2 separate regions of the Homo sapiens genome follow, and region 1 is linked to region 2. The links are contacts of gene promoters, found by promoter capture Hi-C in human tissues and cell types (Jung and others, 2019). All regions are on one chromosome and are shown on one strand. Each heading gives the region's core, a stretch centred on a gene start or on the middle of the fragment in contact. The rest is flanking DNA. Distances are from core to core; before and after follow the strand shown.

What was found. Contacts are between HindIII fragments. The study calls those that stand out against the background at their distance.
Region 1: a fragment that was not itself captured here is called in contact with the fragment with the promoter of CNOT7 in region 2 in 1 of the 25 tissues and cell types used here (aorta).

The regions. Positions count from the first base shown.
Region 1 is chr8:18,937,266-18,942,482 of GRCh38, reverse strand. The region is part of intron 1 of PSD3 (pleckstrin and Sec7 domain containing 3); the gene reads left to right. Among named protein-coding and RNA genes, the nearest start is that of PSD3, 74 kb to the left of the region's middle. RefSeq lists an enhancer at 1,712-2,911. The HindIII fragment of the contact is 5,306 bases long and covers 273-5,217 here.
Region 2 is chr8:17,244,261-17,249,106 of GRCh38, reverse strand. CNOT7 (CCR4-NOT transcription complex subunit 7) reads left to right here and starts at 2,250. Exons shown (of 7, transcript NM_013354.7): 1 at 2,250-2,432; 2 at 3,860-4,071. The coding sequence starts at 3,955. VPS37A (VPS37A subunit of ESCRT-I) reads right to left here and starts at 2,149. Exons shown (of 12, transcript NM_152415.3): 1 at 1,738-2,149. The coding sequence starts at 1,862. RefSeq lists an enhancer at 1,653-2,501. The HindIII fragment of the contact is 14,692 bases long and covers 1-4,846 here.

The DNA of each region.
Region 1 (5,217 bases), core at 1,676-4,175, 1.7 Mb before region 2:
ACAATTCAGCCCATAACGCCTAACTGTTGCCTTTTGCAGCATTAGCCTTGAGCTTCTTGTCCCTGTCTGCACTTAAGTTGTGCGTGGCTCCCTGCTTCCATGGGCCTGGCTTCTGCTGGGCAATGGGAGCAGATAGGATTGAGCAGGATCAAGTGCAGAGTGTGACTGTTGGAACCAAGTGTTAGTTTTGAGTGAGTCATGAAATATTATTTTATAGTCTTTAATTTAGTGTTTAATTTTTTCTTTATAATACTCACTGGCTGACTTGGAGGCTTTCAGATTCTCTGAAAATCATACTGAAGTTGAAATAATTAAGGAAATGAAGGAGCATGCCACCTTTCTCAAACTCTACTCTTAACCTTTTTCTCCCTCCTCACTCCTCTAGCCCCATCATTCCCTTCCCAAATCAACTGAAAACCACTTTTACTTCTAAAATTTGCCTGTAGCTTTCTGCTTCGTCTTTTTGATTTTTTTACAGCTAAACAATTAATTAAAAGAATCATTCTAGGCTGGGTGTGGCAGCTCACACCTGTTGTAATCCCAGCACTTTGGGAGGCCGAGGCGGGCGGATCACCTGAGGTCAGGAGTTTGAGACTAGCCTGGCCAGCATGGTGAAACCCTGTCTCTACTAAAAATACAAAAATTAGCCAGGCATGGTGATGCGTGCTTGTAATCCCAGCTACTCTGGAGGCTGAGGCAGGAGAATCACTTGAACCCGGGAGGCGGAGGTTGCAGTGAGCCAAGATTGTACCATTGCACTCCAGCCTGGGTGACAGAGTGAGAATCTGTCATCTCAAAAAAAAAAAAAAAAAAAAAAGTCATTCTACATCAGTAGTGCTTATCTTGTGTCTAAAATTGGTAATTATAATCGGTAATGTTGCGAGTTGGATAACGTGAATGTAATTCTTTGTAAATGTGAAAAGTCATATCAAATGTAAGGTTGAGATTTTGTTTGTCCCATCCATTTAATGGTGGGCTTGCATCTTTAAATACAGGGTGTGTTTTGGGGATCATGCCATTGTAATTTTATCACAAGGAAAAGATGTTACTGCTCCCGTAGTGAAGTGTCTGTGAAGCTGGTTCAGAAGTGTGAAGAATCATTGTGCTTCAGAATTCAAGGAGAGCTGAGAGATAAATTTGAGTAACACTTTTTATCAATAGGGAAGCTGAAGCCCAAACTTGAAGCATTTGTGTGAGACTGCGTGGTACTATCGAGCCGAGATTTAAGTCTGATCACCTGACCATCAGTCCAGCTGCTAATGTTTCATGTTCCATACTTCTTAAGGAGATTTATGTTCGTAAAAACAACTGTGATGAAGCAAAAGAATATATTTTATTCAGTTAGTAATGCCAAAGGAAATAGTAGTCTGAATTCTGTGGGTCTGTCATTAATCTGATTGTTTTAACAATACAGTTTTCAAAGACCTGCATTAATTATTGGAGAGATCAGTAAAAATTTATAAGCCTTGCTATGGGAAGAGGATGTATCAATAGGGGCTCACAGCTTCAAGAATAACTAATTGTTTGGTAAGAATAACCCCCCAGTGCAGGTGGAGCTGAGAAACCAAAGGAGAAGGCAGACAGGTCCAGACTGTTGTTATAGGGTGTTTTATTGGGGAACTGACAGACAGAAGCGTGGTTTTTGGCAACTGCAAGACGGATAGATCTCCATGCCATTATACCCCAGACCCAGGGATTATATCTAGGGAAGGGGCACACATGCTTCGGAGGGAATAGGTAGGAATTTGATGTAAGGGCAGGATTTACTGTAAGTATGTGCCATTACTCAAGAAACAGTAGATAAATTGGAAATCTCAGAGGCATTCCCAGAACTGGGGTTAATCAGAAGTCAACATGGCATGTTAGTTTCCAAGATAGAGTTACTTTAGCCTCCACACAAATGCAAGCAGAATGAATTTTATATTATTTAGCAAGGTGGAGTATGTTAATGGAGCACTTTATTAAGCAGAGCCCTTTAGTGAATTTTACTTCTAGGTCGAGCAGTCCCTTTTAAAAAATGTTTCACTTTTGTGATAGTCTGAGCGTACTTTGAACACGGCTTCATTCGGAAGCTTTAGCGCCTTCAAGCCTTGCTCCTCAAAGCTGGTCTGTGGATCATGGTCACCAGGGAACTTTTAGGAATGCGGAGTCCCAGGCCCCACCTTAACCTGCTCAGTTTCTGTTTTAAGAAGATTCCAGGTGATTCGTATATACAACAGAGTACGAAGACCATTGGTCGAGAGCAGTGGTTCACAAAGAAGATGGCTCCTGTACCAGCAACATCAGCATCACCTGAAAAATTGTTAGAAAATGCAGATTCGCAGGCCCCACAGACCTACGGCATCAGAAACTCTGGGATGGACCCCAGCAGTACGTGTTTTACTTGGTGCTGTAGGTAATGCTAATTCATGATAAATTTTGAGAACCACTCTAGGGTAGTATGTTTCCAACAGTTTAGGTCATGAGCAACCTTGAGAAATACACTTTTAATCATGACTCAGCACACACACTCACATGCACGTGTGACTTAGACGTTCCATGAAACAATGCTTATCTTACAGTGTGTTTTCTGCTCTGGTATTTTTACTTATATTCTATTAAATAGATATGTGTGTATAAACTTATTGATATAAAAATGTGGTCATGATCCACTAAAGTGATTTTACAAGCCACTAATGGGTCATAAGTTGCAATTTGAGAAACAATAGTCTTGAGCAGGCTCCTCTTGATAGTCTGATAAAATTCTAGATCTTTTGTCAGAATAGTGCATTTTAAATGCATACAATAATGTAGATAGAGTTGCAAAAGAAACCAATTTGATTGGCTACCAAAATATTACATTTGTGGTATGATAATATATGTATCCCAACTTCTCAGGAGGCTTAGGCAAGAGGATTGCTTGAGGTCAAGAGTTTGAGTCCAGTCAGAGCAACATATCTAGATCCCATCTCTAAAAAAAAAAAAAAAGCTATGTTTCTTTATTGATAACAAGATTTAATGGTGAGTCTAGTAACTATTATCATTTCAAACTAGGGACGAGTATACATATTTCCAAATATCTGTAGTAACTGTTAGATGATATGAAAATGATGAATTTCTATTGATGACAAGTTATGGTTATTGCTACCAATACTCTGGTTTGTTGCTTACATTTGTATTTGAAAACATGCTAAATTTCATCTAAAGGTAAATGCAAATAAATATGTAAATCACCCCCTCCCCAGCTTCATGAACTTCCAGAATTCTCTTGATTGGCAATTGCTTCCCCACGGACCTGAGGTTAAGAATCCTTGCTCAAGGGGAACCTTGCTTTAGAGAACAGTTCTCGGCCTTAAAGTTGAGATTCTAAGCAAAAATTTATCTTCTTGGAATTTCTTGAAACTTTTGCTGTATAGATGGCATCTTTTCTTATTTTCTAGCACCCCTGTAATGGATTCCTTTTTAAAAATGTTCTTTCTGATGTTTTAGTGAGTCCTTGGGGCATCACTTGGAAGCCCCAGTGTAGGCTCTTGATACTGTTTCTTCTCTAGTCTCCCCATTCTCAATACATGCACCTGGTTGTTCAAGCCAGATTCCTGGGAGTCATCCGCAATGCCACGAGTTCTAGATTTGGACTGCTCGGGTGTGAATCTAGGATCTATATATCTTTGGAAAAGTTATTTAGCCTCTCATTGCCTTCTTTTTTCCACCTATAAGATGGGGATGACAGTAGCCCCCACCTCATAGGATTGTTCTGAGCATTAAATGAGATATTCCATGTATTACATTAGAACAGTGCCTGGCACAGAGTAAGTGGTTAGTATCTATTCTAATTAACCTTAATCTCCCCTTTCCCTCTTTTTTTTTTTTTTTTTTGTTTGAGACGGATTTTCGCTTTTGTCGCCTAGGCTGGAGTGCAATAGCGCCATCGCGGTTCACTGCAACCTCCACGTCCCAGGTTCAAGCGATTCTCCTGCCTTAGCTTCCTGAGTAGCTGGGATCACAGGTGCATGGCTCCACGCCTGGCCAATTTTTGTATTTTTTAGTAGAGACGGGGTTTTGCCATGTTGGCCAGGCTGGTCTCGAACTCCTGACCTCAAGTGGTGCGCCCACCCCAGCCTCCCAGAGTGCTAAGATTAAAGGCATGAGCCACTGTGCCTGGCCCCTTTCCCTCATTCTTTAAATCCAGTTTATCAGAAAACTGTGTAATTCTTCCTACAAAATATATTTTAATTCATCCACTTTTGCCTATTCCTCCAAACTTCCCTGTTCTCGTTTGGATTTCTAGCTGATATCTCTGCTGCTTCTTGTCTCACTCCAATTCATTTTCCATATAACACCCATATGATCTTTTAAAAGTGTAAATGAATAATCTTTTAAAATGCAAATGAATCACTGTATCCCATAAAACGCTTCAGTGGCTTCCCATCAAACCCATCAAAATGCTCCGTCCTTTCCTTGAGCTACACTCTTCATCCTGCAAATCTCTAAACTTGCCCACTCACTTGCTCTTCTGTGGCCACTTTGGCTTTCTCTTAGTTATCTGAGTAGCCTCATCCATCCTTCCATTCCTTAAGGCCATGCGTATGGCCTTCCCGCCAATATGTCGCTGACCTTCCCCAGCCTGTCATATTTCTCATCTCTGCAGGCGTTAGTTTCTCAGAGAGCTTTCCCTAACCACCTGCCCAAATTAGGGCACCTTACGTGGCAGCCCCTTGGCCGAGTTCCTCTTTTACTAGCCTGAAGCTCCCCAAACACTTCAAAAAATTAATATTTCCTCTCTATTGGGGAAAAGGATAATTAACAACCTGTGATTATCAAACACGTAACACCAAGAGGAGTATGCACCTTTTTTCAGACCGATACATTTGACGCGTTATGAACATTAAGTGATTGTGGAGCTCTTTTAAGAAATTGCTGTCTGAATGTTGTGCACGCTAGCTCTTGGTATTAAAGAACAAAGTGGGGTCTGCCCCCTGAACCTGTCTCCAGTGGGGTGATGGAGGTGTGATTGGGTCTTCCTAGTATTGTCAGTCATTTCTACTCCAAAGCATAGAATAGAAATACTAACATTTCCCTCTTTGAAATAGTTACTTCGTTGCTGTTAAAACCCTTCACGCTTCTCTCCCCCAAAGTGAATGGTCAGTCACTGTTCAGACATGAGAAAAGATGATGTCTCATAACCAGTGGGTAGAAACCAGTACCGGTGATATCTGTATCCTGGTTAATGTTTAGGTT
Region 2 (4,846 bases), core at 1,001-3,500:
CTACATACTAAGGTTTAAAAGCAATTAATTCCAAAAGTGTGGTTCTAAAAAAGTGTTTCTGCAATAGCAGGACTGGTTTGGTATATAGTCTACCAAGGTAACAACTTCTAAGGGAACAAACATGTTAAAAACGAGTCCCCTTATTTTATAAGCATACCTTGTGAGAGTAGCTCTTAAAGGTCAGTACAGAACATGATTTGGAGTAAGAGTGACTTGTAAGAACTTTGCGAACTTAATTTTCCAGAATGAAAGCCACCAATAACAGCCTGCCATTCTTTTCTGTTAAACAGCATAAAATTTCACCTTTTGAAAGTTCTGAACAAACAGAACAATTGAGACAACGAACCAAGAAACACCTAAAGTTCAGTCAGCATCAGGCCTTATTTTAGCCAAACTGATTTTGCAGTAAATTTTTCTATTAACTAGACTATTTAATTAAAAATTATTCCATTTTAAATAAGAATTATTCGATATTATCTGAGGATACATATTTTTTAACTGTATGAAAATAATATTTTTAAAAGGGCTAGGAGCCCGGCGAGGTGGCTTATTCCTGTAATCCCAGCACTTTGGGAGGCCGAAGCGGGTGGATAATCTAAGGTCAGGAGTTCGAGACCAGCCTGACCAATGTGGTGAAACCCCGTCTCTACTAAAAATACAAAATATTAGCCGCGCATGGTGGCGCGCACCTGTAATCCCAGCTACTCGGAGGGGTGTGGGGAGCTGAGGGAGGATGATTGCTTGAATCCGGGAGACGGAGGTTGCAGTGAACCGAGATCGCGCCACTGCGCTCCAGCCTGGGCAACAGGAGAGCCGTACCCCCGGCAAAAAAAAAAAAAAAAAAAGGGGTTAGGGACTTAACAATGTTGTCATCTTTATTTAAAATAGTGTGAAACTGTTAAGTAAATATACTTGCAAAATGCATAAAATATAAAGAAGCAGTTCTAATTTTTGAAAACCATTAGAGACCATAGACATTTGCAATGTAAAAGGCTGCAGCAAACCAATTTACAGTAAAAGTTGAAATAATATGAATTGTAAAAATATTTCTAAACTGACCATGATAAAATGAAAAACTCACAGGAAGACAACAGAACAATCAAGATGAACATAAAGTAATTCTTGAGCGTGGGGACAAGACTATGAAAGAAGTGAGAAATGTACATGCACTGGTCGCTGTGAGATGGGGAGAGACTGCTCCAACAGGGTAAATCTTAGAGACTCAAGAAGACTGACTACGTGATAAGTGACTCTCAGACGAGAAGCATTCACTGATGAAAACTCTGGCTTCCCTTTCCTTTGATGTTGCAACAGTTCTATTTTCCATTCTTTGTGAAACCTGGAGATTACTCTTCACAATTGTATTTTAACAATTCTGCTGACGCGGCAATCAGGTGGGCAAAGGGAAAGATCAGTGGCGAAGCCTGGGCAGCAAGGGATACTGGAAATAGACTATGAGAGAGATTGAGAGATTACAGTCAGCAGCTATGTGTCAGGAGGGATGAGGAAATCCGAGTTAGAAGCGCTGAGCAGTGGTGCGGCAGGAGGCAGGGAGGGTCCGGAGGAAAACAGTAAAAGGGGGCAGGAGTGGCAGAGCAAGCGTGTGACCCACAACCAAGGGAGGTAAACCACATGAGGAGCTGGTGGGGAGCAGACTGAGGCGCTGTGAGGGTGGTTAGGACAAGCCCGCCCTCCCACCCTACTTTTTCCTCCGGTGGAGAGGCAGCGACCAGTCACCTGGAGTGTGAGTTCCGGAGGGACTCGATCAGGCGCTGCTTCTGCTGCTGGAGGCTGGTGAGGCCACCGGGGGACCCAGCCGCGGAGGAGGAGGCGCTCTTGGTCAGGGGAAAAAGCCAGCTCATCCTCCTCGGGTCCACGGGCCGGAGGCCCTGGAAGGCTCTGGCCTGCTTCTCCCAGTGGCTCGGCCCGGCGGTTCTCCAGCGACAGAGGAGCGGGGTGGGACGTCCGTGGCCCAAGCGCTGGGGACCGCGTCTTCTCTAAGCCTGTCCTGCCTGCGCTCCCCGAGTTCTGGGGGACATGCTACGAACGGCGGGCGGCTGGAGAGGGAAACTTGCGGCCCGGAACAGGAGGTCCCACCTTCACGGCCCAGACGCCCAAACCGGCCAGCCAGGGAGCCTGGCCGCCCAGCGCTCCACCACCCGCGCCGCCGTCACTTGCGTGCCCCGCCCCCGGGGGCGCTCTCCGCCCCCTCTGCGTGTCGCGTCATCATCTAGCGCCCCCGTCAGGACGTGCGAAAAGCGACGGCGCAGCACGGTGCGGCGCAGCTCCTGCTCGCCTTTCCCTTCGCTGGGCGAGAGGTGTCTATGGGGCACCCGCTGCCGCCGCCGCTACCGCCACCGCCACCGCCACCGCCGCCGAGTGCTGTCTCTATGGCGAGGAGGAGGAGGAGGAGCGCGAGCTCAGCGACACAAGTAGATCTTGCATCCGCTGCAGCCTTACGGGGGGAGGGGCGGGTTAGGGAAGTAGAAAGGGGGCGGGGACGATGAACCTGAGAGGGTGCGCGATGGCGCCAGCTGGAGTGCGGCTGGCGGAGGAAGGAGCCTGGCGGCGGGTTGGGGGCTGGGTAACTGGGGCTGGGGGTTTGTCAAGGGGTTGGCGCGTAGTGATGACGCAAAGGCTTTGTACCTGGGGCTTCGCAGTGGGACGGAAATTGGGAGTGGAGGGCGGTGGCCTAGATCCTCACCTCTTCGTATTGTTTCACGCGGCAGTGCTTGGGAGTCAGTGTAGCTCCAGTCAGTGTTATCAGCACCTTCGCACTGGCGCTTTGCCAGGGAAGAGAGTTATCTATGGCTTGAATACCTCGGTGCCGTCCTCTCGTTTCTCTGGGAAACTGCAGTACGGAGATGCTTTCTCCAGTAATGAGAAGGCCTTTGGTGTCTCTTCGGGGCTTCTGGGACTGCAGTAGAGAGAGAGGTGGAGGAAAACAATGTTAGACTACAGGGTCTTTCCAAGTCTTTGTGTTTTTGTGCTTATGTGTGTGTGTGTGCCTATCGGGGTGGGAGAGTTATAAAGGAGGGGTGTCCTGGATCTCCTTTAGTTTCTCTACTTGGAGAATTGGAAGTTACATTTGTGACTCTTCAGAGTTTAGAAGACAGTCATAAGACCCTCTTTTTACTCTTGTTTTTTTTTTTTCCAATTTGTATGAAAAATGCAGAAGGATTTGAAATTTCCCTGCCCAAGAATCAACAGGAACTCTGTTTATAGACCAGAAATGTGACATCTATCTTTGGTAACCATGCAATATGCTCTAAGTTTTAGACGTTCTATTGTGTTCTTTTTCCGTTCTGCAACTGCGAACATTCAGATAATTTTCATGGCCGTTACTTTTTTCTCAGAGCATTTACAAACATTTTTGACCCCTCTAGTCTAGTTAGAATAAACGCCGGTAAAGTAGATCTTGTTATCAAGTCGGATTTTGGTTGTTTTATTAATGAGGAATAAAAATAAACACCATCTTTGCCATGGTAACATCTGATCTTGTCACATGTAAATAAGTAATTTTTCATTTTTTGTCTGGAAATGGATGGCTTTATAAAGTTTTATGCAGAGTAGTTGAACTCAGATAAATAATTAGTGGAAAGTTATAAAATATGATTAGTATGTATGTGTAAAAAAGCTATTTTAAAATAACTGAAATTAGGACCAGGAAATCTGTACTGTAGTCCTTTTTTTCCTATAGACTAGCTGTGTGACCTTAAGTTACTTTCTAAACTTTGATTTTTTTTTTTTATGAGTCAAGAACTTTGAATAAATAACTTCTTAGGTTCCTGCTGGATCAATTATTCTGTGATTCAGATTTGATATATCTGGTCTTCATATTGTTTTTTTATTTTGACAGGTACATAAATAAAGGATAAAATATTTTATGAAACAAATCTTCAATCAAGTATAACATTTTGATGCTTGGCATCTAGACTCCCTTGTGCCCTCACTATGCCAGCGGCAACTGTAGATCATAGCCAAAGAATTTGTGAAGTTTGGGCTTGCAACTTGGATGAAGAGATGAAGAAAATTCGTCAAGTTATCCGAAAATATAATTACGTTGCTATGGTATGCCCACAAGCAGATCTTTAAAACGCTTCATATAAAGGAGGAAAAGGAAATTTTAAAGTCTTGAATTCAACCCTTTTGGTTGATATTTTTAGGGATTAATTTCACCATGAAAAGTAAAATTTGTCACTGCCCTCCAGCCAAAATCCATCAGGAATACACCTGTGATTTGACAGGTTGGGTTTATCCCTCATTGCAGTGAGGGAAAACGCACTGGAATTCATGGGAACCATGGGCCGTTTGAATAAGAGTTAGGAAGGATTTGGGCTCGTGTCAGGTGGTCTTAGGGGAAGGTAAGGGAAGCAGAGCTTTACTGTGGATTGGATGTGTTCGGGAAGCTGGGGTAATTCTGTGATTGGGTATCTTACTAAGTCTTAAATGAGAGACTAGAATGAGGTTAAAGCTGCAGAGAAGGAACAGTCATTCATTTAGCCAGGATGGAGATACTTGGTCATTTTGTGGTTTGACATTTTTATTTTTTTGTCCTTGTTCAGACATGATTACAGAGTGGCCTTATTTGAGGTTGAACTTTTGTGAAATTGTGTTCAACAGGAGAACATTAGGGCGTGGCTATGAGTGCCAGGTCTGCTCCTAGCAACACCAAAGCCTAGCTGGTAGTACCACATGAGCTCCCAGAAGCTAGGGTGCTCTTTCTCAAACAAAAAAATCAGATGTGCCAGTGAAACGTTGTTGGTCTGCAATTTGTTTTCATAATTAACACTGGAGTTCTGTGAATATACTGTGTTACTAAGCAACTCTGCTTTTGCACGTGCTG